Linked DNA regions of Homo sapiens: regions 1, 2, 3, 4, 6 and 7 are each linked to region 5. Evidence: promoter capture Hi-C in 16 types of primary human blood cells and fetal thymus (Javierre and others, 2016). All regions are on one chromosome and are shown on one strand. The core of a region is centred on a gene start or on the middle of the fragment in contact, and the rest is flanking DNA. Distances in the headings are between cores, read along the strand shown. Region 1 holds the start of BEX4 (brain expressed X-linked 4). Region 2 has its middle 3.6 kb from the start of RAB40A. Region 3 overlaps LL0XNC01-250H12.3 (a long non-coding RNA gene). Region 4 overlaps LINC02589 (long intergenic non-protein coding RNA 2589). Region 5 holds the start of SLC25A53 (solute carrier family 25 member 53). Region 6 holds the start of BEX2 (brain expressed X-linked 2). Region 7 overlaps IL1RAPL2 (interleukin 1 receptor accessory protein like 2).

Region 1 (4,129 bases), core at 474-2,973, 940 kb after region 5:
AGGTAGCCGGAGGAGGAAAAGTAATACTTACAAAAATAAGGACTGGAATGAAAAAGGAAGATGATGGAATACAGACTGCTTTTTGAACTGCTTTATGCATTTCATATTATGAAAAGAGTATTTTTCCTAAAATAGGTGAATTGCCATGCTGACCGTAACTTTTAGGCTGAGACAAAACAATATTCAATTAGAATTCTAATTTCCATTAGAAACTGGTAAGTGTAAACCCCAAAAGGCTTACAGAAAAAGTAAATCACAAAAATACAAGCTTGTAAAGCAGTGTTCACATTAACCTCAGCGAAAACTTTTAGGATTCAAGGTATGAGGCAAAAGTCATAATGGTTGTCAGGTTCAGGAGTTTGGAAGCGCATATAGTGCCTCATCTGCTGTTCCCTAGTCTTTCTCTTGATTTCCATCATCTGCCCTACAAACCTTTCTACATCATCTCTCGCTTCATTGTGCTCAATATGCCTATTAGGTATGGCCCATCGAAAATTAGGGACAAGTCGCCTAACTCGCCCCCGCCTGATATTTCCTCCAGGCTTCTGGCCTTCACCCCCTCCCAAATGGCGGGATTCTTCTTCATTCTGCGTGGGGGCCTGCTCCCCTCCTTCGTTTTCTTGTTGGGCATTTTCCCCGTTGAGATTGTTTGCCGCTAGTTCCTCTTTGGACTCCATTACTCCTAGGAGACAAGAGAGAGAAAATGGGCTGAATTCTTGGTGGACTGATAAGCACTGAGGACAGAGGCCCTACTAGGCACCTTTTAAAATTCAGAGCCCTGGACTTGACTTTATACTCTAACATTTCATTTTTTTCCACCTGAGAAGCCAGTATGCCCTGTGGGGTGCCCTCAATCCGAGCCCCTCCCTTCCGCAAAGCCCACCATTTTCCCTGTAGATCCATCTCCAGGCTTCCGCAGGCAGCAAAATGGAGGACGAGGATGGCGTGTGGGAAGGGGAGGGTTGCATGGGGTAGAGGGGGGCGAGGGTGAAGGCATGGATTAGGGTCTCAGACTGGGCTTTCCTCACGTTCCGGCCCCCGCCTCACCACCGACCCTCGCACCGACCTGGGCCTATCCTTGCAGTCTCCTCCTCCGGATTCTTGACGCGAGGTGCGCCGCCGCGACACTTAGCCCCGCAGACCTGCAGACTGCCGGGGTGGGGGAAGTGGGGGCTGCTGCAGCAGAACGCTAGCTAGGAACTACCGCCATCCGGCCCCTCCCCCGCCCCGCCCCGAGGCCCTGGCCCTGGCCCTGGCCCTGGCCCTCCTCGCCACCCTCGCCCCCCGCCTCAGCCGCCCCGCCCCGCAAGCTGACCACCATTTTCTGCACCAAGAAGTGCGGGGCAGGGGTGTCGGAAAAGCTTGCGCTGATGGCGTAGGCAGGTGTTTCCGAAGGGTCGTAGCCCCAGGACCGCCGGCTCCCTCCGGGCCGGGCACCTCTCCGCTCAAGGAAGGCTCGCGGGCCCGCCGCGGGGCCCGGGGGCTGCATCGCGGACCGATTGCTTCTCCGCACGGCTCCCCCGGGGTGGGCATCCGCAGGCCGGAGCCACTCCCTCACACCAACCCCAGGGACCCCCCGCCGGGTTCCTTACCTGCTCCCCCTCCGCTTCCTAATTTCGGGGCCGCCCCTGGCCCACACGTCCTCAGGGCCACCGGGAGCAGGTACCACCGCCGAGAATGGAACGAGCCACGACGGCTCTGACGCCAGAGCGAGACAACACTCAGTGTTGGCCGGTCACGTGGGGCTGTTGTCATCGCCAACGGCTCCGCCCCCGTCCCACGCCCCCTCCTGCAGCCCGGAGTCAGGCGGGGCTTTCGGGTCAGCCCCTATCCTCATCCGGAGTCTCTTTTAGTATCTCCAGACTGGCCGGCCCTTCCACTCTCCTGTCTTTGTGTATTCTTGGGACTTCCTCTGCCTCCCCAAGAGGGAAGCTGTCTTCTCAGGGAGCTGTTGGCCATTCCCACTTCTGTGGGGACTTGCCTCTCCCTGTCCTGGGCTCCCAGGATTTTCCCCACATCTCCCAACCAGGACGCGGGCGCAGAATTTAAAGGGGTGCAAAATTCCTCAGCAGTCAAGAAAAATAACATTTTAATGCAACATTTTAAAAAACAATTATTGCAAGAAAATTTATGATGAGCAAGATGTCAAAAATTTAAATAAAGAGAGCATCAGTCCCGCCCACCCCAATGGCAAACTGTGGTACTTGTTACCAATGCTCATCCTTTTCTCCACACCAGAACGTTTGGGGGGGGACAGGAAATGAGTCAAGGACAGTGGATTTTTTTTCTAATTCTTCTTAATACCTTTCTGTTCTGTTCCTTTTTTTGGGGGGTGGGGCAGAGTCTCGCTCTGTCGCCCAGGCTGGAGTGCAGTGGCGCGATCTCGGCTCACTGCAAGCTCCGCCTCCCGGGCTCACGCCATTCTCCTGCCTCAGCCTCCCGAGTAGCTGGGACTACAGGCGCCCGCCACCACGCCCGGCTAATTTTTTGTATTTTTAGTAGAGACGGGGTTTCACCGTGTTAGCCAGGATGGTCTGGATTTCCTGACCTCGTGATCCGCCCGCCTCGGCCTCCCAAAGTGCTGGGATTACAGGCGTGAGCGCCCGGCCCCTTTTTTGTTTAAGAAACAGTCTTTATAGTTTAACTTTATCTTAACTTTAATGGAAAATTTCGAACATTTGGAAAAATGGAATAGTATAATGCAAACCCCATGTACTAGTCCTCACTCAGATTCCACAGTTAACAACTCATGGCCAATCTTATTTCGTCTTTATCTTACCCGCTTCCCAACCTTAAAATTATTTCTGAAGCAAATTCTAGACATAATATCACTTTAGGCATAAATATTTCAAAGTATGTATCTACAAGATAAGGGTTTTCTTCTTTTTAGCATATAACCACAATACTGTTGTCACATTTAATAATTCACAATTCCTTAATATCATTTTATGTCTAATCTGTGTTCAAATACCCAATTGTATTATAGTTTTTTTTAACAGTTTGTTTGAATCAAGATACAAATAAGATATGCGCATTTTGATTGGTTGCCAAATTTCCTAAATTTCTTTTAATCTGTGGGTTTTCATTTTTTAATTTTTTCTTTAATTATTGATGAAATAGTCATTTGTTCTGTATTTTCCTACAGTCTGGATCTCAGTGGTGTCATTAACACATTATCTCTTTACTCTGTGGTTCCTATAAGATGGTAACTAATTCTAGAAAAGCATCCTGGAATTTGGGTTCAATTTCAATTCAAGTTTGTCCAAGGGAAAGCAAAGACTCTTTCTGTTTTCCTCTTTTTGGGATTTTAGCTGAAATATTTCTATAAAGAGACCCTTCCTATTTTAGGTCGGGCTCCCTAGAAGCAGAACTTGGAACAGAGATCCTTATGAATGTAGTTTCTTGTAATGCTCTCTCAGGTTAAAGGAAGTAAAGGCAGCAGGACAGGGCTGGGGAGCAGGGCAGTGATGAAGAATGGGGTTTAACTAGAGATTAAGTTTAGTTAATCGCACCTGAAAACTCTGAAGCACACACAAGTCATCCCACGTTGACAGTAAGTCACTGGCTTTTTGTAGCTCAGCGTCAGTCACAGATCAAAGTCTGTAGGTGGAGCAGAGCATAGTCTCTGGAGCAAGGTGGCTCCCATTTGGCAGAGAACAATTCCCTGGAGAAGAGGTAAAATGTGAGTTGTATGGCTCAGGCCTGTAATCCCAGCAATTTGGGGGGCTGAGGTAGGAGGATTGCTTGAGCCCAGGAGTTTGAGACCAGCCTGGGCAACATAGGGAGAACCCCATCTCCATACACACACACACACACACACACACACACACACGCATACACACACACAAATTTAGCTGGGTGTGGTGGCACGCAACTTTGGTCCCGCCTACTTGAGAAGCTAAGGAGGGAGAATTGCTTGAGCCCGGGAGGTCAAGGCTACAGTGAGCTATGACAGCACCACTGCACTCCAGCCTGGACAACAGAGTGAGACCTTGTCCCCTCACTCCTCCCGAAAAAAGATGTAAGTTGTTATCAGCCAACACACACAGCCAGGGAAGGTTTCATAGGTATATGACTTGTGCTGTGGCACAGGGCCCTGATGTCAGAAGAGTTCTACTCCTGGTTTAAT
Region 2 (4,182 bases), core at 361-2,860, 630 kb after region 5:
TGCAGCTCTGTGTAGTGATGATACTCAACTACTGTCACTTTTAAAGCAGACAATATTCCTGCCAATGGGGAGATGCTTTGTTTCACCAAGCTGGGCAGAATTCCACAAATCACCCTTGTCTGAGGCTAGTTCCACTAATTAGTAAGCTTTCTCAGGAGGTAGCCTGAAGAGTGGAAGAGTGAAGTTTTTATTTATTTATTTATTTATTTATTTATTTATTTATTTATTTATTTATTTATTTGAGAAAGGCAAGGGGACAGAGGGCTGTGCAGAAGCATTTCTGATGTGGAGGACAAGCCTGAGCACCACGGTTGCCATAGAAACCAGAAGTCATTACTGTGACCTTGATGACTTTTAATAGAGACCCCTGTGGGCTGGTGAGAATAGCAGGGTCCCGCCTTCAGGTGTTTGGGACTCAACTGAGGGTGTGAGTGCCCCACAGTGGGGGCTGAAGTGCCTTGGGATGTGGGGAGACGAAGGGATCCCAGATCTAAGTCCCCTCACTCCCAGTTTGAAACAAGTTGCTCTCACTGTTTCATGAGGGAGAGAGCTAGGACCCTCCTGGCCCCAGTGAGTGGGGTGTCCTGCTCCTGGTGTCCTGGAGCTACTTTCTATGTAAAGGTGGGACGTGGGAGGATGAGACAAGTAAGGACTCTCTGAGCCCAGTGTCCCCCTCTGTAAAATGGGGATAATTATGCCAACCCGCAGGATTGCTGCAAGCTGCAGTGATAACACAGGTGCAAGCCCATAGCCCTGTGGTTACTGCACGATCAGGAATGCCTGTGTGAATTCAGGCCTCTTCTTAGTCCTTTACAGATTTGTTGTTAGGAGATAGAGGAGGAAAGGAGGAGAAAAAGGCCCTGGTGAGAAACCCATTGTATCTTCTGGTTGTAATGATCACTACCCAATTGTATCAGTGTCACTGGTCACTGACCCAGTGCCTAAGATGGTTCCTGGCACACTGTTACTCTAAGAAAGCACAGTGATTGCTGGATTCTCTCTGTCCCTGTGCAGATCTTCATCAGGTTATTGAACTCATAACAGGTGTATGAAGGAGATGGGCTTTGAGGATCTGGGTCGTGATGGCTGCTGAAGCTTCTACTTCAGATTTGAAGGGCAGCAGTCCTAAGGAGACCCCCAACACTTCCATCCCTGGTGGGATATGATGCCTGGCTCAAGTGAGCTCATAGATCTGGACAGAAGCATGTTGTGGAATACCTCTGTGAGGTTTATAATATAGTCTAAAAGCAGAGAAACTCCTTTGATCCCATCTTTGGAGAAGAGGTTTAGCATGTGGAATTTCCTTTCATCAGCAGCTATGTGCTTTGAAGCCGCCCTTGAGGCCCATGTTTAAAATGCCTTTCGTTGTTACAAAGCAATGAATAATTCATTTGGGGAATCAACTTGATGTTTAACATGTATTTGAAATAAATTTACATATGTTTTCTGCCTGTATAAATAATGATCAGTGATTCCCATGTATCTCTCAGATGGGCATTGAAATACACAGTTGGTCAGAAGGTCTTCCAAGCAACTGGAGATTGTAATATGCATTTTTCAATGGTAACCATGTTATTATCCATTCTGTAATACATTTTTTAAGAAGGCAAAAATGTACAAAGTATTAGTTAAAACTGTCAAAATGTCAGATACAAAAGTTCAATATTTTGAAAAATAATAATTTCCATATAATTTGCTCTATTATAATGATACCCAGTCATGTCCCCTAAAATAACCAGCTAGGCCTAAATATTATTATCATTGTTTCCCAGAACATAAGATTTTCAGTTCTGTACTACTAGGACTCTCTATCCCTCCTATTGCCCTGTCCCCAGACAAACACAATACTTTGTCACTATAGATTAAGTTTTATGTCCTAGACATTTATTTAAATGGAATTGTAGAAATGTTTTTCTGCGTTTGTTTTTGATTTTTGGTTTGGCTTCTTTCATTCACCCAATTTATTTTTAGATGTATCCATTTTGTTGCACATATCAATAGTTCATTCTTTTTTATTGCTGAATAGTATTCCAGTATATGGCTATATCATAAATTTTTTATCCATTCACCTGTTGTTGGATATTTTAATTATTTCCAATTAGGATCTCTTGTAAACAAAGCTTCTATGAATATTTGTGAATAAGTCTTTCCATGGAAATAGGCTTTCTTTCTCTAATAAATACTTAGGAGTGCAATGGCTGGATCATGTGGTAGATGTAAGATTAACATTGTAAGAAACTGCCTGTTTCCAAGTGTTTGTACCATTTTTCATTACCACCAGTAATGTATCACTGTTTCATCCTCCACAACCTCGACAGAGCTTGGTATAATCTGTCTTTTTAATTTTTTTAATTCTCACAGGAGTTTAGTAGGATCTCATTGAAATTTTCATTTACATTTCCCTTATAACGAGTGATGCTGAGCATCATTTCCTGTGCTTACATGATATTTGTATGTCTTCTTTAGTGGAATGTCTATTCAAATATTTTGCCTGTTTCTTTACTGGTGTGTGTTTTCTTCTTACTAAGATTTTAAACATATTCTGGATACAAGTCCTTTATTAAATATATAATTTTCAAACATTTTACCCCGGTCAGCAGCTTACTTGTCTATTTTTTCAACCATGTAGTTGGAAAGCTAAAGTTTTTAACTTTGAGGAAGTCCAATTTTTCAATTTCTTTGCTTATAGATTGTGGTTTTGTTGTCTCATCTATGAAATCTTCACCTGACCCATTGTCAAAAAGATTTTCTCCTGTTTTTTTTTTTTCTGCTAGAAGTTTTATAGCATCAAATTTTATATTTAGATCTCAGGTCCATTTTGAATAGACTTTTGTATATAGTGTGATATCTGAGTCACAGTTTATATTTGTGCATGTCAATATTCACTTGTCCCAGCACCATTTGTTGAAACAATAATCCTTTCTCCACTGAATCACCATTGCATCTTTGTCAAACTCAGTTGTCCATATACTTGTGGGTCTATAGCTGGACTCTTTATTCTGTTCCTTTGATCTACTAATCCATCTTGATGCCAATAGCACACTGTCTGGATTACTGTATGTTTGTAAGGAGTCTTGAAATCAGGTAGTGTTTGTCTTCTAATTTTGTTCTTTATCAAAGTTGTACTTCATAGTTGATATGGTTTGGAACTGTGTCCCTACCCAAATCTCATGTCAAATTGTAATCCCCAATGTTGGATATGAGGACTGGTGGGAGGTGATTGGATCGTGAGAGTGGATTTCTCCCTTTGGTTCTGTTCTCATAATAGAATTCTCATAAGATCTGGTTGTTTACAAGTGTGTAGCACCTTCCCTGCCATGTAAAACGCCTGCTTCCGCTTTACCTTTCGCCATGAGTTAAAGCTCCCTGAGGCCTCTCCAGAAGCAGATGCCTCTATGGTTCCTATATAGCCTGCAGAACCGTAAGCCATGAAAACCCCTTTTTTAAAATAAATCACCCAGTTTCATGTGTTTGTTTTTAGCAATATGGGAACAGACTAATAGAGTCTAGGTCTTTTACATGTCCATATGAATGTTAGAATCAGCCTGTCGGTTTCTTTAAAAATTTTTTAATAGGATTTCCATTTGAATTGCTCTGAATCTATAGATCAGTTTTGGAAGAATTGACATCTTAACAATACTGAATCTTCTCAGTATTGTTTGTGACCCATGAGCATGGTAAGTCCTCCACTTATTTAGGTCTTTAATTCTCTCAGCAATGATGTGTGGTGTTCAGTGTACAGGCACTGCACATCTGTGGACAGATTGTTCATAAATATTTCATACTCTTGATGATGCTATACATGGCTTTGTTTGTTAAACACAATTGCTAATTACTATATTTTCACAGTACTATCAGCAACCAAGTGTTTAACATCAGTGAGGCATTTTTTTGGTTGAAAGCACAGCTTACTCTAGGATGGAAAAGGTATTTGATCCTTAACCTGTGTTTACCTGTATTTCCGTATCTGCTTTTACAAGTCATTGGCGATATATTGAAACTATGGAGGAAAATGTTCCAGAGACAATTCTACAGGTCATCTTCAGAAATCACACCAAAAGAACATAGTTTAGTAGCTTTCAACTTTATATGTGTGGTCAGAAATGATTTTGTTGCAATGTGTGGCTCAGGCTGGAGTGCAATGGTGCAATCATAGCTCACTGCAGCCTTGAACTCCCAGGC
Region 3 (3,995 bases), core at 791-3,290, 680 kb after region 5:
ATTATTGCTTAGATATGTTTAGATACACAAATACTGACCATTTTGTTATAATTGTCTACAGTATTCAGTATAGTAACATGCTGTACAGGTTTGTAGCCTGGGAGCAACAGGCTGTACCATCTAGCCTAAGTATGTAGAAGGCTAGGTTTGTATAACTGCACTCCATGATATTACCACACTGAAACAATTTAACAACACATTTCTCAAAATGTATCCCCATCATTAAGTGACACGTGACTGTATATATATTCAACTGTTAACAGTGCTTCTCCATAAGTAGTAGACTTTTACTAGTTTTTAATTTTTTTTTTTTTTTGCTTTCCTCACTTTTCCATTTTTATCTACAACAAAAGTGTCTTGGTTTTGGAGGTGAAAATAATAATCGGAAAAAATAAATATCACCAGCCCTACCCCATAAGACGGTTCAGCTTTGGAATGGGGAACACCTCTAAGCCAAGGGAATTAAGTAGTAGGGTGGTCCCAGAACTAATGTATGAATCTATCCACATGGTAACCCCAATTGGGCAGCTTCAGGGAAATTACAGACACCTAGGAGAAGGGCCAACATGTCTCTCAAATGAAGCTTACATTTAGCAGTCAGTATCCACAGAAATCCACTCTCCAGGATTTCAGTGATGGTCACAAGATGAAAGTAGTTTCACAGCATGCTTCTCTCTGCACTCTCCCAAAGAAAGCCCCTTGAATGGAGAGTAGGCTCCTCTGTTTACCCACCTAGTTAGCCAAGCAGTGACTGCCACAGGGGTGGGAAAGAGGGAGGGACTGCATGAAACCACCCAGGGGTCAGCACCACAGCTTCCAGAGAGGAAGGATCCTAACACAGCTGGGTTTGGGGTAAAAGTTGAGTCACAGTCTCACTCAGCAAAGAACTGCAGGAACAATCAGCACATGTGAATTAAAACACTTGCGAAATACCTTCCCTGTGCAATTAAAAATATTAGAAGAAAAGGAAGGAAAATATACACAAACCCAACAATTCTAACACAAAATCAGATCAAGTTCTAAATAAGATTCACCCCTAAGCCAATAAGGGATTTGGGTGGTAGACTGGCATATCTTTTACCAGCATAGCCCAGATTAGGTTCTGGATTAGGCCTTGAAGGGTTACAGTGAGCATGAAAGACAGATAATTTGGCCCAGACAAATGGGAAGTTGTTTCATATCAGGAAACACTGAGACATTGTTTTAGGCCAGTTAGCTCCAGAGAAACTCTAAGACTTTGAACACGCTGGGAAAAAGCATTTGAAAACAGTATCTACAGGTTGTTTGTGCTCCCTATAGCGTATAAACTGAGAAAATGGATATGTCTGTTTTAGTAAGTCTGCAAGAGTACACATGACAAGGAGGCCATGCAGCTCCCACTGTTGAAATGTGATTGTGTGTTTGTTCTCCTCATGTTTCTTCATTTTTTTTCCTTTTTTTCCATGAGGTAGCCAGGCATCTATAGAAAAAACATGCTACAAAACAATACCATTCTCACTTACAGATATATGCATATGTAATAAAAGTATAGGGAAATGTCTTTAAAATCTAAAACCCGAATTCTGCATAGTGGTTACCTCTGAGAAAGAAGGAGGCTTGCAATCAGAGAAGTCTTCAAAGTGAGTTTCAACTGCATATATAATATTAGGTATGTCAACATGAGAACAGGGATGTCTCTTACATTCTATAATTTTTGTATTTCTGAAATATTTCATAACAACTGTTTCAATGAAGCTTACTTCTGACTTTTAAAAAGAACCATACTAATTTAGAAATTGTGGAAAACATAGTTAAGTCAAGAGATAAAGAATTAAGTACCGACCCACCGCTCATTAATTTTGAAGAATGTATCCTTTTTTGTGCAGTTCCTCCCGTTTTATTCTCTACGCAGTCATATTTAATGTATGAGTTTCATTTATCTGGAGACTCAACATTTCCTAAACATCATAAAACCAGTAATTAAATGTGCCCCAATTTTCTCCTCACTTTACTGATGCCAATGCCCACGTCCTTAACCATTAGGTATACAATCTTTTTCTGTGTAAGGACAGAGACCAACACAGGGGAAGTGACTCCCCATGGTCCTGTACACGAGGACAGATCTGGTATTGGGGGCCAAGGTCTCCTGATTTCAGTCCATTGCACAGCAGACCCATCTTCATGTTCTGTTATTCTGTGCTGTCTCCTTTCTGGCCCACAGTGGGAAGCTGCTATTTCAGCATCCAAATAGAAGTTTAAAAAGAAGAGAAGAACACAACAAATAAAAAGTAATGAGGCTATAATTTGCTTCCTTATTTCCACCATCCTCAGTATCTCATCTTAGAAAGAAATAGCACCAAAGCTTATACGTCATATAAATATGTATGCATTTCTTTTTCTGATGGTTCAAATCCATTGATCTCTTTGAGATGTTGATGTTTAAGTCATCTCTTGTGGGAGGGAGAACATAAGGGAGATTATACATATATTTGTTGAAGTATTAGGTACCATGTGCTTTATTTACGTTTGCTCATTCCTCCTCTTGGCTCTCTGAAGTAAATGTCATTATGCCCATTTTATAGGTTAGCAAGGTCAGGTTCAATAAGGGTAACTCACTGCTAGAGGGTCATATTCAGCTATCAAGAGGCAGGAATGGGGTATTACACAAAATACTCATTTATATATATTATTTCCCAAAGTTATCAGATTATATGTATGTTTCAGCAATTTTTCTTTCTCACTCAGCATGGTAGCCTAGGATATTAGTTTTCAGTCCTTTAGTTATTGTAATCTGGCATAGTTTTGAAAATTTAATGGGTATACAATTGTTTTTTAATGTGAATTATCTGTTAATATTATTTTCTCTATTCATTAGTAAGACTTCATTCCATATCAAGGATGTAGTGTTAAGGATTTAATATAAAAGTAACCACTGAAACAAAACAATAACCATGCTAACTACTAAATAAATAGGAAGAGGAAATCAAACACATGACCTAGTGAAAGGCTATATAATTTCCTTATATTTATAGACAATACTACAGAACTGAACTTAAATGACCAAAGACTTTGATCATATTGTGGCAAGTCAATTCTCCCTGACAATCACATAGGCAGGCCTGCATGACAGTCACACAGACAGGCCTGCATAGCACCCCAGTTACACAGACAAATTTCCACAGCGCTGCCTTAACATTGAGCAAATAGTTAAACCTAGGGAAATTGTTGCCCAGACATCAAAGCTAGAAATGACACATATGGTCAGTAGGAGCCTTGTGTGGGCTTCTCCCTTGCTGGAGCAAGCCAAAATAATAGACACAGTTTTACAATAGGACCCATCTCGGGTCGACAAAATCTGAGAGAAGTCAAGGTAACAGAGGCAGCTGTTTGAACAGATTCATTAGAGAGTCTAAGGCAGCTCTCTGGACCAAGCTGTAAAGGAGACAAGATAGAAACAATCACTCTGGTACGACAGTAGACAGTCCTTGAAGGTACTGGGGCCCTTTTAATCAGACTTAGCAAGGATTTTTTTGCCTCTGACCTTCTAGTTGAAACAAAATTAGTTACCAATAGACTTAGGCGAATGCCGTACTGCACGTAGGGACATAACCCCAACCTATATAAGCCTTAAGAAAATTTAACACCTTGAGTTGGTCTGGTGGAATTATCTCTGGCCTCCTCCCTGTATCCAGTTACAGTAATAAATTCTCTTCTTTCCTAGTTTGTCTGCTTCTTGTTATTGGGCCTCGAGAAAATGCAGCCGGACCTGGCTTGGTTCCAGGAACAACAAGAATAAAGGTAAATGGACTTAATTCACCTATTAAAGTATTTGTAAATTTCCCATTGAAGCAAAATCCAAAATTATGCTTTTTCATGAGATATACCTTAAACAAATGAATTCAGGTAGGTTAACAGTTTAAAAATAAGTAAATATATACCAAGCAATTGACCATATCAAGAAAGCAGGAGTTATAATCTTGATATTTGAGAGAGTAGAATTGAGACCAAAATGGATT
Region 4 (3,844 bases), core at 300-2,799, 610 kb after region 5:
GTTGAAGTTAAAGTCCAAAGGCGGTGTACTGATAAACCAGGAAGAGCCAATATTACAGATGAAATCTGAAGAGTGAGCTGGCAGAATTCCCTCTTCTTTGGAGGATATCAGCTTTTTATTCTATTTAGGACTCCAGCTGACTGGATGAGGCCCACCCACACTGGGGAGGGCAATCTGCTTTACTTAGTCTGCCAATTTAAATGTAAATTTCATCCAAAAACACCCTCACAGAAACATCCAAAATAACGTTTGACCAAATATCTGGGCATTATGACCCAGCCAAGTTGACACATAAAATTAGTCATCACAGCATACATTTGCCAGTGTTTCCACTATCAGCTTTTATAAGTCATTGGTAATATACTGAAACCAGGGAGAAAATGTCACTGAGACATTTTTCTAAAGATCATCTCCAGAAAAATGAATTACTAAAATAAAATAGTTTTGTAGCTCTTGACTTTGTGTGTGGGTAGATTTTAATTGTGGAGTTTTCTTTTTATACTCCCAAACAAATCTACCTTGATGAATTCTTGGATACTTGGGTGATGAGAAAAAGAGGGAGAGAGCATGTATGTATGTGGGTATCTAGGTATGTATGAAGGTGTATATTGCTGAAGCTGCCGGGAATGTTTATTGTGAGAAAAAATTGAGGTTAATTACTGTGCATCATGTCAGTCCTATTCAGTTCTTAGCACATGTTAGGAATAAGATCGAGGAGGTGGTTGGTTTTTTGTTTTGTTTTGTTTTTTCCTCCCAGCTTTCCCTGGCCAGCATGGTTACCATGGTGACTCAGTGATTGCTATGGGATTTGGTGCAGAATGAAAATCTATTTACGATTCTTGCTTGAATCATTTACTACTGTGATAGTTGTCAGGGTTGCTTTTATAATTCTGTCACTTTGTTTAGATTTATTAATTGACATTTGACTGTTAGATATATATGGTTTTTTTTTTTTTTTTTTTTTTTGAGACAGAGTTTCGCTCTTGTCGCCCAGGCTGGAGTGCAATGGCGCGATCTTGGCTCACTGCAACCTCCGCCTCCTAGGTTCAAATTATTCTCCTGCCTCAGCCTCCTGAGTAGCTGGGATTACAAGCACCCGCCACCATGCCCAGTGAATTTTTGTATGTTTAGTAGAGACGGGGTTTCCCCATGTTGGCCAGGCTGGTCTCGAACTACTGACTGCAGGTGATCCACCTGTCTCGGCCTCCCAAAGTGCTGGGATTACAGGTGTGAGCCACCACACCCAGCTATTTATTTATATTACTGTGATTCATAGATTCCTGTTTTGCTCAAAGATATAACATTTGTTATTATAAATATTTATTTGATGCTCAAATTATTCCAGAATTGGCCAGTGGAAGCCCCTCAAGTTGACCTCAGTCCATTTGATGCCTTCCTAGAATTCCTGGAGCATGTATTTTGCTCTCTGAGCCTATCTCCCCATAGGTAAAAAGGATGCCAACCTCAGAGCATTGCTCTGATGATTTGAAGAGTGAAAGTCTGAAAATTACAACCTACCACATGTGTAGCATCTAGTAGGCCTTAAACAAATTTTAGTTGTCCATTCCCACTTGCCTTCATTCTGTCATTGTAATGCTACTGACATTAACATAGTAGCACAGTGGCTCATGCCTGTAATCCCAGCACTTTGGGAGGCTGAGGTGGGTAGATCACCTGAGGTCAGGAGTTCGAGACCAGCCTGGCCAACATGGTGAAGCCCCAACTCTACTAAAAATACAACAACAACAACAACAAAACCCAATTAGCCAGACATGGTGGTGCACTCCTGTAATCCAAGCTACTTGGAAGGTTGAGGTGGGAAGATTGCTTGAACCTGGGAGGCAGAGGTTGCAGTGAGCCAATATCATGCCACTGCACTCCAGCCTAGTTGACAGAATGAGACTCTGTCTCAAAAACAAAAACAAAAACAAAAACAAAAACAAAAGCATAATAGCATGATTACCAGAGAGAATATCTGGAAATGTAACACCAAGTAGTGATAATATTATTAAACTTTATTTTTTAAAAAATATTTCATTAACAAAGATTCTACATATTTAAGTTGTACAATGTGAAGATTTGACATACCTATACATTATGTAATGATTATCACAATCAAATTATAACACATCCATCACCACTCATGCTTTATTCTAGATTCCCAGAACTTGTTCATCTTAAAACTGAAAATTTATGCCCTTTGATCAACACCTTCCTATTTCCCTGACTTTCTAGCCTCTGGCAACCACTGCTCTATTCAGCTTCTATGAGTTTGACCTTTTAAGATTTTACATGTAAGTGAGATCATGCAATATTTTTCTTTCTGTGTCTGACTTATTTCACTGCTAATGTCTTCTAGGTTCATCCATGTTGTTGCAAATGGCGGTATTTCCTTCTTGTTTATGGCCGAATAATATATATATGTATATATTATGTGACATATTATATATACACACACACACACCACATTTTTTATATCCATTCATTCACTGATAAACAGTTACGTTTATTCCATATTTTGGCTATTTTGAGTAATGCTGTAATGAACATGGGAATGCAGATATTCCTTCAAGATACTGATTTCATTTCCTTTGAATATATACCTTGAAATGGGATTGCTGTATTGTATGGTAGTTCAATTTTTAATTTTTTGAAGAATCTCCATACTGTTTTCCATAATGGCTGTACCAAGTTACTTTCCCAGCAACAGTGTACAAAAGTTCCCTTTTCTTTACATACTTGGTAACACCTGTTACCTCTTGTCTTTTTGATAATAGCCATCCTTACAGCTGTGTGGTGATATCTCACTGTGATTTTGATTTGCATTTCCTTATGATTAGTGATATTGAGCACCTTTTCCTACACTATACTGTTGGCCATTTTTATATCTTCTTTGGAAAGTACCAATTCAGGTTCTTTGCTATTTTTTATTGAGTTGTTTGGGTTTTTTTTTTTTTTCCTATTGCATGGTGTGAGTTCCTTACATGTTTTGGATGTTAACTCTTTATCAGCTATGTGGTTTGCAGATATTCTCTCTCATCCCATAGGTTGCCTTTTCATTTTGTTGTTTCCTTTGCCATGCAGAAATTTTTTAGTTTGATGTAATTCTACTTGTTTATTTTTGCTTTAGTTGCCTTTGCTTTTGGAGTCATATCAAAAAAAAATTGCCAAGACCCATGTCAAGGAGCTTTTTCCCTATGTCATCTTCTGGGAGGTTTACGGATTCAGATTTTATGTTTAAGTCTTTAATGCATTTGAATTAATTTTTGAATATGGTATGAAACAATGGTCCAATTTCATTTTTTTTTGCATGTGGATATTCAGTTTTCCCAACACTATTTATTGAAGACACATTCCTTTCATCATTGTGTATTCTTGGTGCCCTTGTCAAAGATTAGTTGACCCTGTATGTGTGAACTTATTTCTCGGCTATACTCTGTTCTATTAGTCTATGTGACTGTTTTTATTATGCCAGTACCATGCTGTTTTGATTACTATATCTTTGTCCTATAGTTTGCAATCAGGGAATGTGATGCTTCCTGCTTTGTTCTTCTTTCTCAAGGTTGCTTTTGCTATTCAGGGTCTTTTGTGGTTTCTTATAAATTTTAGGATTGTGTTTTCTTTTTCTATGAAAAAAGTCATGGGAGTTTTGATAGGGATTGCATCACCTCCTTGGTCAAATTATCCAATGTGAAATAGATCTTTCACCTACTTGGTTAGATTTAATCCTAAGTATTTTATTCTTTCTGATTCTATCGTAAATGGGATTGACTTCTTTTTCACATAGTTTGTTGTTGGAGTATAGAAACACAGCTGATTTTTCTATGTTCATTTTGTATCCACA
Region 5 (4,044 bases), core at 1,252-3,751:
TGCTATGAGTACGACTAAGGATGCTAGGAACACATCTCCCTTTCTAACATTGGGTTTACGAACATCCTCTCCCCTCAACTACCCAGTTTGCTTAGCAGTAGCAGCTGGTGGTGAATTCTGCCATTAGGGCAAGATGCCCAGCAAGGAAAGAACTGGGTTGGTTAGGAGAATTTAAGGCAGATGAAGTCTCTGGAATGGGGATATGGTGTGTAGGGTGAAAGGAGCTAAAAGGGAAAGGTTTCTTTGTGTATGAAACCCACTCACCAATCTCCACCATTTGTTTATTTCTACCGGCCCTAGAGACACTCTTGTTGGCTCGTCTTTCCTCTGCCAACACTTTTGCTTTGCATCAGGATTTTTCTCTTTCCTCGCCTCTGAAACTCGACTTCTCACAGCTCTACCCCTTACACTGACACTTTCTAATAGTTTGACAGCTAGAAATAATGGAGAAAATTAAGTAAAAAGTCTTTCCGTGCTACCTCTGTTATTTTTGTTTTTAAATTTGGCCAAGCCCAGACATGTGTGCTATCGTTGGGTGTTGGGGGAAAAAATAAAAGACAAGATGATTTGTCTGCAATTCAAACCCAAGAGGGTTTCCTAGGTGTGGAGTGATGGGTTCTGAAATGCCAAATGAGAAAGAAGGTCAGGGAGCTACAAAAGAGGTACAGAGGTAGGGACAAGGCAGTGCTTCATTTACCTTCAGCAAACCTGGTGATTTACCTTCTCCTTCAGTCCCTTCACCATCACCAATCCTTCCCCTGAAAAAACCATTGTGGACTGCCTGATGATAAGTTGGGAAGTGAGAGTGGGTAGGTGTGGAGCAAGAATAACAACATCCTGGGTACCGTACATTCTGAAGGAACAGAGGGAATTCCTGTTTTGTTTTAACCTGGGACAGAGGGGATTGGTTTGTTCTCTCCAGGCTGAGGCAGTAATTCCTGACTCTAGGGACTGCTGATATGGAAATTACTACTACCACTCTGGGTGGAGTCAGATGAGTATATTAAAGAGTCTCATTGTACTGTCCTAAAATAAGCAAGATCTTTGCTAATATCCAAGCTTTACAGAACGGTGGGATGAGGTGAAGGCCCTGTACCTTTATCCCCAGTGGTCTTCAGTACTATAGGAAGTAATGGGGCCTGTGTGGCACAGTGGAGGGCAATGAGTGAGCTGGTTATGCCAATTCCTACTATAGTCACCTCCTTGGCTGCCAGCCTTCAAGGGAGAGATCTTTGCCTTAGTGGGTTCTGCCCTTCTGCTTCTGAAGAGAACCTAGTCTTTCTGTATGGGCATTCAGGCAATTCTTGGGGTGGGGAGTTGGGGGAGAGAGAGCACTTGAAAAGAATTTATGGTGGCCTTTTTCTCAGTGATATTTGAGAAATACCAAGACACATCTGAATGTATCTGAGTTTAAGTCTTGGCTCTATTTGTTATTAGCTCTGTGACCGTGGGCAAGTTATTGATTTATATGCAATCTGACTAATCTGAGTTTTCTTAGCTGCTTTAAGCAGACAAAGAGGACAGGAAAGGGTAATACACTTAAGAACCAGCAAAGGGCTATTGTGAGGATGAAGCAATAACAACAAAATGGGTTTAAAGCACTTATCATAGTGCGTGGTCCATAGAACTGCAAACGTTGGATTTTGCTTATTTTAGGACAGTACAAAGAGACTCTTTAATATACTCTTCTGACTCCAGCCAGAGTGGTAGTAATTTCCATATCAGCAGTCCCTAGAATCAGGTATTACAGCCTCAGCCTGGAGAGAACAGGGCAATCCCCTCTATCCCAGGTGAAATGATTATTATCATTTATTATTTATTAGCCAGAGGTCTTAGGTGAGATCAAATTCAATCATTATAATTTATATTTCAATATACTGCTTAACTTCATGATAGGCAATGTTCTAGGTGCTCCTCACATGTGAAATTTTAATATTTTTACTGCAACTCTGGAGGTAAGTACTATTATTATACCAATTCTACAGATGAAAAAGCCAAGGAATAGCATGCTTGAATCACTTGCCCAAGATGCCATGTTTAGATAGTGGTACAGTGGGGATTCGAACGCGGGAGCTCAGGTTTCAAAGTCTGTGCTCTTTACATATGCAGCTAAAGAGTCAGACAAGAACCAAAAGGAGATGGAGAATAGAGGGTAGAAAGGGCACAGGTTCAAGGTGAAAGGTCAGAAACTGCAAATTCGGAGTTTGGGTTGGTCTAGCAGCTTAAAGGCGTCATCATGAACTGTTCACCTAAGTAAGTTAAGCTCCTGTTTGAGAATGACTGATAAGCTTGCAAGCCAACTTACAAACAAACTGGGGAAATGTTCCAATAGATGACTAAGTCTTTTAGGTCTTTTTACCTGTGTTTTTCGGTCTCTATACCAGATTAGTCGCCTGGCTCTCCCAAACAGACCGGCCAACTGACGTAGTCGCGAAACGGTTAATGTCGAGGCGGGGGCGGGGGAGGCGGAAATAAAGAGAGCGGAAGCAAAGAGGATTGTGGGAGCTCCGTTGTGCGTCGCTTAAGTGAGGGCGGCGGATGGGCGAAGGTCCGGTGACTGCGACTGTCGCTGCTTTCTGAGGCCACAGGAAAGGGGCCGTCGGTCGCCGCCATGACAGCGAGCGAGGCGGAGGTTTGTAGCACTTCTTATGGGCTGAGGGCGTAGACACATCCTGCTTCCAGCCTAGCAGGCAAACGGGAACGGAAGTGATAGGGGATCAGAAGTTGCGAGGGGATGAGGAGTAGGGGAAACTGACAAGCGGACGGACCCGGCGGCGAGAATTGATGGCGTAGCTGTAGGATTAAGGGGCGTGTCAACTGTGTTGTGTGTGTTGACACTGAGATGTGTGAATCCCCTCATTATTTTTAGCTGGGGACAGGCGGGGTCTATGGGGGAGGGGGCGGACGGATGAATGGAGGATAAAATCAGGGCGAAAACGTGTTGTCTGCTGGGCACCAGTACATCTGAGTCACATCTCAGCAGGATGATTTTATTGGAAAGATCTAGGTCCCTGGTTTCAGATTCTGCTATTGATGCGTTGATTGATTTCCCTTACCAAAATACCAAGTACCTGCTCTGTGCTGGGTACTGCACTAGAGGCTCCGGATGAGGAAAGGAATTAGGCTTTTTCCTCGACATTTACAGCCTGCCGGTTGCTATCTGCATTTGGAGACAGGCTATTACAATACAAGGAGACAGAGATAGATCCTGTGTTATGAAAATCTATTGGGTGCCACCGAACTCATCTGGGAGTTGAGATCTGGGACGGCTCTTTGATGCGGTGATTTAACATATATTTTGAAGACAAAATAAGCAGGGCAAAAACGAAGTGCAATTTTCCTCCAAGCACCTTCCCTCCCTGTTGAGGTGAACTGGAGAACTGAGTAGCATTTAAGGCCCAAAATTAGTGTATTTCTTTTTTTTTTTCTTTCTTTCTTTCTTTTTTTTTTTTTTGATAAGGAGTCTCTCTACTTCTGTCGCCCAGGCTGGAATGCAGTGGCGTGATCTCCGCTCACTGCAACCTCCGTCTGCCGGGTTCAAGTGATTCTCCTGCCTCAGCCTCCCGGGTTGCTGGGATTAGAGGCACCCACCACCACTCCCGGCTAATTTTTATATTTTTATATTTTTAGTAGAGACGGGGTTTTACCATGTTGGCCAGGTTGGCCTCGAACTCCTGACCTCAAGTGATCCGCCTGCCTCGGCCTCCCAAAGTGCTGGTATTACAGGCATGAGCCACCGCGCCCGGTCCCCACAACTAGTTTATTTCTGGTAAGAGCATTTGCCCATCACAATGGGACTTCCAGGCGCCTCTGGAAGAATCAGTCTTACGTGAGTGCAAAGCCTGCAAGCTCTGGGTAGGACTACGATGGAGGTGCTAGTTACTTGGTTTTCCAGCAAACTCGGTTCACAGCAGGGAATTGTGCACCCACCAGAAATCCTAAGCAATATTTCTCTGAACAAGAAAAGAAGCCTCTTTGTTTACCAGAGAAACAACAGTATAGCAGTCTAAGTCAGTGGCTCTCAAACTTTCCTGTGAATCAGAA
Region 6 (4,115 bases), core at 1,442-3,941, 850 kb after region 5:
TCACTCTCCCAAAGTGCTGGGATTACAGGCGTGAGCCACCGCACCAGGCCCGGCTCTTTGTATTTTCATACACATATTTGGAGTCTGCTTATCAACAAAAAGTGACCTGTTGAGATTTTCATATGGATTGCACTGAATTTACAGATGAATTTGGGTATAATTGACATCCTTAAAATATTGAGTGTTTTCATCTATGATCATGGTAATCCCTATACTTAGTTATTCTTTAATGTTCTTGAAACTATTTTATAATTTTCAGTGTAGAGGTCTTGAAAGTATTTAATTAGATTTATTTCTATATATTTGATTTTTAGCAAAACTTATTGGGCTGTATTTTACCTACAATAAGATACACACCTTTTAACTGTATAGTTCAATGATTTCAACAAATGTATTTGTCAATGGAGTCACTACCCCATTAAGATACAGAATGTTTTCCTCAGCTGAGAGAGTTCCATTATGCCTCTTTGCAATCACAAAAACCTCAACTTTCAAGCCAGGCAAAAACTGATTTGATTCAACTTATATCAGTACAGATTAGTTTTGCCTGTTTTAGAACTTATATAAATGCAATCATGCAGAAAACACTCAATTGTGGCTGGTATCTTTATAGATACAAATTTTTTTCATTTTTTTGAGATTCATCCATGTTATTGTTTGTATCAGTAGCTTGTCACTTTTTTATTGCTTAGCAGCGTTAAAATGTATGAATACATCACAATTTGTTTATCACTTCACTTGTTGGACATTTAGTTTTTATCAACTTTGGGACTATCATAAAGGAAATTTCTATGAACATTCCTATGCAAATATTTTTGAGAAAATATGTTTTAAATTCTGTTGGGAAAATTCCGAAAAGTGGAATTTCTAGGACATATGGTAAGTCTAACTTTTCAAGAAACTGCCACCAAGTCTCAGAGTGGTTGAACTTCTCACCAACAATCAGTGAGAGTTTCTGCTGTTTAGTATTTTCAAAAGTGCTTGGGACTGTCAGACTTTAAGTTCAGCAATTATAATGGGTGTGCAGTGATTTTTCATCCTGGCTTTATTTTACATTTCCCTGATAGTTAATGAGGTTGAACATCTTTTCATGAGCTCATTGGTAATTTGTGTGTGTAGTTTTGTGAAATGTTTATTCAGATCTTTTGATCATTTTTACTGCATTATTTGCCTTCTTATTTTATGTTTTCGAAGTTCTTTATATATGCTCTGAATTCAAAACCATTGTCAGATACAAATACTGTGAATATTTACTCCCAGCTTCTCACTTCATTTTCTTAACCATGTGTTTTAAATGGTAGAAGTTTTTAATTTGGATAAATCCAATTTCTTATTTTTTTCTTTTGTGATCTGTTCTTTTTGTGTCCTAAGGAATTGTTTTCTCAAAGATTGTAAAGTTTTTCTGTATGTTTTATTCTAGAAGTTTTCTAATTTGAGCTTTTACATTTAGGCCTAGGATCCATTTTGAATTAATTTGTGTATAGTATAAATAAAAGGCAAGGCTCCTTTTTTTCCTTTAAGAATTCTGTTATTTCAGCACCATTAGTTTAAAAGACTATACTTTCCATATAGAATTACTTTGATATCTTTGTCAAAAACTAATTAACAACATACGTATGGGTCTATTTCTGGAGTCTATTCTGTTCTATTGATCTACAGGTCTATGTTTACTACTACACTAACTTTATTATTACACCTTAAGTCTTGAAATAATATAATGTAACTCTCAAGATTTGTAGGATATTTTAAAAAAATTATTTGTCTATTCTAGGTCCTTTGCATTTTCAAATAAATTTATGAGTACGTTTGTAATATTTATCTTGTAGCTGCAACCTTCTTAAAATCAATTCTTACTCCTATAGTAGGTTTACCGTAGATGTCTCTGGATTTCCTAAATACATGATTACTTGATCTTTAAATAAAGACATACTTATCGTTTGAACCAGAAATTTGTGAAAAAGGCCTTTTTTTTCCTTTTAGTTATGAAAACCCAACAAGGTTCTGTAGCACTACAACTCACTAGCTCATTTCATAGAAGGGCCTCATGTGTCCAGGGGCCCCTCAAAAGGGGAGCCATCAGCTGCCCTGTCCTTTTCCAAGTTCTAAAAAAGCAGCTGCGTGTAGAGTCTATATTTATATAATGACTTAACAGGACAGGTGGTTGGGACATTTTGCCCAACTTTAATCCCGTCTTTCAAGTAAAAATAACTTTTTTTCCTTTTTAAAGAAGTATATTAATTTTTTGTGTTTTACAAAAGAAATAATACAGAAAAGGTATTAAGAATGAGAAAAGCCTACTCTCTTGTGCTCCTTTCCTGATACACCTCTTCCACTCATTTTAGTGGAGAGAAAACGGAGAATATTGGTAGGAGGACAGAAGGAGGTAGACAGGCAGAAGGAGGTGAATCCTGGGAGCCAAGGGCAGAGAGAGGCAAGTCCCCAGAGAAGTGGGAATGGCCAACAGCTCCCTGAGAAGATACCTTCCGTCCTTCCTGGGCAAGCAGGGGAAGTCTCAAGAATATACAGAGAAGGAAGAGTGGCAGAGCCCAGGCTGGGGATGTTAAAAGGGACTCCCGGTGAGGATGGGGGCGGGCCCGAAAGCACCACCTGACTCCGGGCTGCAGGAGGGGGCGTGGGACGGGGGCGGAGCCTCTGGCGATGACAACAGCCACACGTGATCGGCCAACACTGAGTCTTACCTCGTTGTGGCGTCAGAACCGCCGTCGCTCGCTCCCTTCTCGGCAGTGGTACCTGTTCCCGGTGTCCCTGAGGACGTGCGGGCCAGGTACGGCCCCGAAAGTAGGAAGCGGAGGGGGAGCAGGTAAGGGACCCGGAGGGGGTCCCTGGGGTTGGTGTGGGGGAGCAGCCCCGGCCTGCGGATGCCCCATCCCCGGGCAGCAGCGCGGAGACGCAGCCGGTCCACGATGCAGCCCCGGGGCCCCGCCGCGGGACCGCGAGCCTTGTGTGAGCGGAGGGGTGCCCGGCCCCGCGGGAGCCGGCGATCCTGAGGCTACGACCTTTCGGAAGCACCTGCCTCCGTCACCAGCGCAAGCTTTTCCAACACCCCTGCTCCGCCCTTCTTGATGCAGAAAATGGTGGTCAGCTTGGGGGGCTGGGCGGCTGAGGCGGGGGGCGAGAGCGGCTAGGAGGGCCCGGGCCCGGCGTGGGGAAGGGGCCGGGTGGCGGCGGGTCCTCTCTAGCGTTCCGCTGCAGCAGCCCCCACTCTTCCCACCCCGGCCGTCTGCAGGTTTGCGGGGCCAAGTGTTGCGGCGACGCACCTCACGTCGAGAATCGGGAGGAGGAGACTGCAAGGATAGGCCCAGGTCAGTGCGAGGGACGGTGGTGGGGAGGGGGTCAGAACATGAGGAAAGCCCAGTCTGAGACCCCAATCCGTGCCTTCACCCCCACACTTAGCAATCCCCCACCCCCACCCCTTCTTCGTCCTCCATTTTGGTGCCTGCAGAGGCCTGGAGATGGATCTGCAGAGAAGATGGTGGGCTTTGCGGGAGAGAAGGGCACAGACTGGCTCCCCTCGCCCCCCCGAGGGTACATGGGGCCTCTCTGGTGGAAAAAAAATGAAATTTAAAAAAGGCCTTTGAAATCCAGGGCTCTGAATTTTGAAAGGTGGGTAGTCGGGCCTCTGTCCTCGGTGCTGATCAGTTCACCAAGAATTGAGTCCATTTTCTCTCTGTCTCCTAGGAGTAATGGAGTCCAAAGAGGAACGAGCGTTAAACAATCTCATCGTGGAAAATGTCAACCAGGAAAATGATGAAAAAGATGAAAAGGAGCAAGTTGCTAATAAAGGGGAGCCCTTGGCCCTACCTTTGAATGTTAGTGAATACTGTGTGCCTAGAGGAAACCGTAGGCGGTTCCGCGTTAGGCAGCCCATCCTGCAGTATAGATGGGACATAATGCATAGGCTTGGAGAGCCACAGGCAAGGATGAGAGAGGAGAATATGGAAAGGATTGGGGAGGAGGTGAGACAGCTGATGGAAAAGCTGAGGGAAAAGCAGTTGAGTCATAGTTTGCGGGCAGTCAGCACTGATCCCCCTCACCATGACCATCACGATGAGTTTTGCCTTATGCCCTGAATCCTGATGGTTTCCCTGAAGTTA
Region 7 (4,067 bases), core at 648-3,147, 750 kb before region 5:
ATTCCACAGTGTCAGGAAACATCCCTACTCCCAATTCTGAATGTAGACAAAGGGTACTTGAACACTGTGTTTCTGCTTAGAAAATCGAAAGCAACTACCAGACCTTATTACCTTCCAAGAATTATTTTAAAGTCTTAGAAAACTCTGTCTCCTGTGGTCGATGGTAACAGCCTGCATACAAACAAAATGAATGATTTTTAATGATATATCAATATATACTGAGTCTTGCCACAAAAAGTAAAAAGGCAGGCCACCCATAGTTTTGATTGCATAGTCTCTGTGTTGTTTGTTCAGATTAACTCTACCTCATAGTGATTTTTCTCTTATTCTGTATCTCACTGGCCCTGGTAGATACAGTCTTACTCTTACTATCCTGCCTTGCTTATATAATGCATCAGAACTATTTTCTAGTAATTTCAAGACTATATTTTGTAAGATCCTTGATGATAAGGATTATGCCTGCTACTTCTTTTGTATCTCCACTGGCACAGTCACAGTCTCATGGTACTTACACAATGTACTTATTAACTTGCAGCACATAGGCATGTATGCACACACACCCTTGCTATGTGATCTCTTGTTTTGTTTTTGTTTTATTGTAAAAGTACTTTGCATCATGGTGAATAAGGGGCTTTAATCTGAACCAGTTGGCTCATGTGAGACTTATTTAGGATAAGTTAATGTCATCAGCTCAGCATGCTTGGCCTTAACATGCTTTACCATATTTGCTGATAGACACACACATTAAAAATAAGTATTTTTCCTACCTCTGAAAGGAAAGCAATCCTGAAATGAAACAGTCACTATTGGAAAGCTACAAAATAATATAGTATCAATATCTAACTCTCATTATCATATTGATTTGCCTGCAGTATGCTTCATAAACATCTCTATAAATTAATACTTATACTAGTCCACCAGGGAGAGGATGGGATTGCCTTTTGAAACTAGAATTATGGGGCTAGAGGCACATAAAAACATGTGGTATAGCAGAAAGGGCACCATACTGTAACTCAGGAGAAAGGATTCTATTCCCAGGTGGGCAAGTAATCTTGATCAAGTCACATTCCTTCCCTGGGCTTCAGTTTTCTCATCTGTGACTTAAGGAAGTTTACATTAGATTTATTCATGCAATATATATTTAGTGCCTCCCCAGCCTTCTAGGTGTTAGAAATACAGCAAAACAAAACAAAACAAAACAAAACAAAACAAAGGAAAAAAAGAAAAAAAAAAATCCCTGTCCACCTGCAGCTGATAAAAGATAGAAGGACAATGCATTTCTAAAATATCTGAAAATGATTATTGGAGGATACTGATAAGCACTATGAAGCAAAATAAGAAGGTTAATGGGATACAGAGTAAAAGGTAGGAAGAAGAGTAAATGAAGAAACAGGGAGATGTACTAGGGAAGGCCTCTCTGAGAAAGCGATATTTGAGTGAAGGCCTGAATACGGAGAAGATTTATTTGCAAACACTTACAGGAGAGTAATTCAGACAGAAGGAACAGAAAATATAAATTCTCTGAGGTGGCAACAAGCTTGGTCTCTTCAAATAACAGGAAGAAGATCAGTATGTCTACAGTGCAGTGAGCAAGGAGCAGAGTAGCAAGAGATGGTGATGAAGCTGTATGTCAGATAGTGCAGGGACTTGTAGACCAGGGTGAGAGGTTTGGATTCTATTCTATACATCATGGAAAATATTTAGAGAATTTTGATGCAGGAACGACATCATCTGATTTACATTTTAAAAGTACTGCAGTAAGAGCAAGAGTGGAGAGTGAACAGAGACCACTGCAGGAAGAGATATTTGTTCACTTGCCTATGGTGGTAGTGAAGACAAAGAAGATTGAACAGATTTGAGATATGTTTAAGAGGCAGAGTCAACAGGACCTCACTCACTAGATATTGAGTATAAGCAGGAAAACAGGAAAGAAAGATGACTCTTGGGGCTTGTACCTGAGTAATAATTGTCTAATGGTTCTTGTTTCAGACATTTTCACCTATGTTATAAATAGGATTGGCCTATACTTTTCAGATTCTGCCTTTTCCTGGTTTTATGATGGTTATGCTAGTCTCATAAAGTAAATTAAGTAGCTTTTTTCCCTTTTCTGAAATTGTTAATGTAATTTGGAACATTTAATTCTTGACAGTTAGAGAAAATTTTCCAATAAAATCATCTAATCACATAAGCCTGGAGTCTTTGGGCGGGAGATGGGAGGTTGATAATTTTTATTACCAATTCAATATGCTTAAGCTTATTGGTTTATGAAGGTTTTCTAATTTTTCTTGAGATAATGTTGATCAATTATACATTCTATTAATATGTCCATATCATTTGTTTTCTATTTTATTGGCATAAAGTTGGTTGCTTCATATTAATCTCTTCTGATTTATTCAAATCTCTGTTATATCTATCATATTACCTTTTCATTCCTAATATTACTTGCATGTGTCTTTTTCTCCCTTGTGTCAATAAGCCTCATGATACGGTCTTAGAAGTAGAAGGCTGCAAAGAAAATGATTTAAGGAAGATCTGAAAATATATCCATTTAATAGCATGTTCCCAGTCATTCCCATTATTTCTTTCTGTATAGAGAGCTCATGAATTAGGTGTGCACGTGAATATGTAGAGTGCTGTGGGAGTGAAGAGAGCTACAAAATTTTTAAAAACTATTAGGAACAAAAGAGAAACAAAAACCTCAAGACACCACTATATCAGGTTCTAGAAATTCAAGTTTGCTGTACTGACCATACACAAAAAGGAAACTCAGGTATTTAAAATACATTAGGAAGAGAACACATGGACACAGGGAGGGGAACATCACACACTGGTGCCTGTCAGGGGACAGGGGGCTAGGGGAGGGATAGCATTAGAAGAAATACCTAATGTAGATGATAGGTTGATGGGTGCAGCAAGCCACCATGCCATGTGTATACCTATGTAATAAACCTGCACATTCTGCACATGTACCACAGAACTTAAAGAATAATTTAGAGAGGAGCCAAGATGGACGAATAGGAACAGCTCCAGTCTACAGTTCCCAGCACGAGCAACGCAGAAGACAGGTGATTTCTGCATTTCCATCCTAGGCACCGGGTTCGTCTCACAAGAGAGTGCCAGACAGTGGGCGCAGGTCAGTGGGTGCGCGCACCGTGAGCGAGCCGAAGCATGGCGAGGCATTGCCTCACTCGGGAAGCGCAAGGGGTCAGGGAGTTCCCTTTCCTAGTCAAAGACAGGGGTGACGGACGGCACCTGGAAAATCAGGCCACTCCCAACCGAATACTGCGCTTTTCCGACAGGCTTAAAAAATGGTGCAGCATGAGATTATATTCCCCACCTGGCTCGGAGGGTCCTACAACCACGGAGTCTCGCTGATTGCTAGCACAGCAGTCTGAGATCAAACTGCAAGGCGTCAGCGAGGCTGGCGGAGGGGCGCCCACCATTACCCAGGCTTGCTTAGGTAAACAAAGCAGCCAGGAAGCTCGAACTGGGTGGAGCCCACCACAGCTCAAGGAGGCCTGCCTGCCTGCCTGCCTCTGTAGGCTCCACCTCTAGGGGCAGGGCACAGACAAACAAAAAGACAGCAGTAACCTCTGCAGACTTAAATGTCCCTGTCTGACAGCTTTGAAGAGAGCAGTGGTTCTCCCAGTAAGCAGCTGGAGATCTGAGAAGGGGCAGACTGCCTCCTCAAGTGGGTGCCTGACCCCTGACCCCCGAGCAGCCTAACTGGGAGGCACCCCCCAACAGGAGCACACTGACACCTCACACGGCAAGGGGACTCCAACAGACCTGCAGCTGAGGGTCCTGTCTGTTAGAAGGAAAACTAACAAACAGAAAGGACATCCACACCAAAAACCCATCTGTACATCACCATCATAGAAGACCAAAAGTAGATAAAACCACAAAGATGGGGAAAAAACAGAACAGAAAAACTGGAAACTCTAAAAAGCAGAGCACCTCTCCTCCTCCAAAGGAACGCAATTCCTCACCAGCAACGGAACAAAGCTGGACAGAGAATGACTTTGACGAGCTGAGAGAAGAAGGCTTCAGACGATCAAATTACTCTG

What was found. The method cuts DNA at HindIII sites, captures the fragments that hold promoters and counts their contacts. A CHiCAGO score of 5 or more calls a contact.
Region 1: a contact is called between the fragment with the promoter of BEX4 here and the fragment with the promoter of SLC25A53 in region 5, in 8 of 17 cell types (monocytes, total B cells, M0 macrophages and 5 more). The highest score is 10.6, in monocytes.
Region 2: a contact is called between a fragment that was not itself captured here and the fragment with the promoter of SLC25A53 in region 5, in 1 of 17 cell types (total B cells). The highest score is 7.2, in total B cells.
Region 3: a fragment that was not itself captured here is called in contact with the fragment with the promoter of SLC25A53 in region 5 in 2 of 17 cell types (fetal thymus and naive CD4 T cells); the score reaches 5.4 in fetal thymus.
Region 4: a fragment that was not itself captured here is called in contact with the fragment with the promoter of SLC25A53 in region 5 in 5 of 17 cell types (total B cells, naive CD8 T cells, fetal thymus and 2 more); the score reaches 8.2 in total B cells.
Region 6: a contact is called between the fragment with the promoter of BEX2 here and the fragment with the promoter of SLC25A53 in region 5, in 3 of 17 cell types (activated CD4 T cells, total CD4 T cells and fetal thymus). The highest score is 10.4, in activated CD4 T cells.
Region 7: a contact is called between a fragment that was not itself captured here and the fragment with the promoter of SLC25A53 in region 5, in 1 of 17 cell types (naive CD4 T cells). The highest score is 5.5, in naive CD4 T cells.

What each region holds. Positions count from the first base shown.
Region 1 is chrX:103,212,702-103,216,830 of GRCh38, reverse strand. It overlaps BEX4 (brain expressed X-linked 4), which reads right to left and starts at 1,723. Exons shown (of 3, transcript NM_001080425.4): 1 at 1,593-1,723; 2 at 1,067-1,149; 3 at 1-682. The coding sequence starts at 677. The coding sequence ends at 315. The HindIII fragment of the contact is 8,756 bases long and covers 1,364-4,129 here.
Region 2 is chrX:103,520,971-103,525,152 of GRCh38, reverse strand. No RefSeq gene overlaps it. Among named protein-coding and RNA genes, the nearest start is that of RAB40A, 3.6 kb to the right of the region's middle. The HindIII fragment of the contact is 1,025 bases long and covers 1,098-2,122 here.
Region 3 is chrX:103,477,918-103,481,912 of GRCh38, reverse strand. All of the region lies in intron 4 of LL0XNC01-250H12.3 (a long non-coding RNA gene), which reads right to left. Among named protein-coding and RNA genes, the nearest start is that of RAB40A, 40 kb to the left of the region's middle. The HindIII fragment of the contact is 607 bases long and covers 1,737-2,343 here.
Region 4 is chrX:103,547,037-103,550,880 of GRCh38, reverse strand. The region is part of intron 1 of LINC02589 (long intergenic non-protein coding RNA 2589); the gene reads left to right. Among named protein-coding and RNA genes, the nearest start is that of LINC02589, 6.0 kb to the left of the region's middle. The HindIII fragment of the contact is 5,054 bases long and covers 1-3,844 here.
Region 5 is chrX:104,155,466-104,159,509 of GRCh38, reverse strand. SLC25A53 (solute carrier family 25 member 53) reads left to right here and starts at 2,501. Exons shown (of 2, transcript NM_001012755.5): 1 at 2,501-2,632. It also overlaps a transcript of FAM199X not described here. RefSeq lists an enhancer at 2,428-2,727. The HindIII fragment of the contact is 6,927 bases long and covers 2,291-4,044 here.
Region 6 is chrX:103,309,566-103,313,680 of GRCh38, reverse strand. BEX2 (brain expressed X-linked 2) reads left to right here and starts at 2,691. Exons shown (of 3, transcript NM_032621.4): 1 at 2,691-2,821; 2 at 3,248-3,323; 3 at 3,700-4,115. The coding sequence starts at 3,705. The coding sequence ends at 4,091. RefSeq lists a silencer at 2,866-2,955. The HindIII fragment of the contact is 10,238 bases long and covers 1-3,054 here.
Region 7 is chrX:104,909,305-104,913,371 of GRCh38, reverse strand. The region is part of intron 2 of IL1RAPL2 (interleukin 1 receptor accessory protein like 2); the gene reads right to left. Among named protein-coding and RNA genes, the nearest start is that of TEX13A, 310 kb to the left of the region's middle. The HindIII fragment of the contact is 716 bases long and covers 1,540-2,255 here.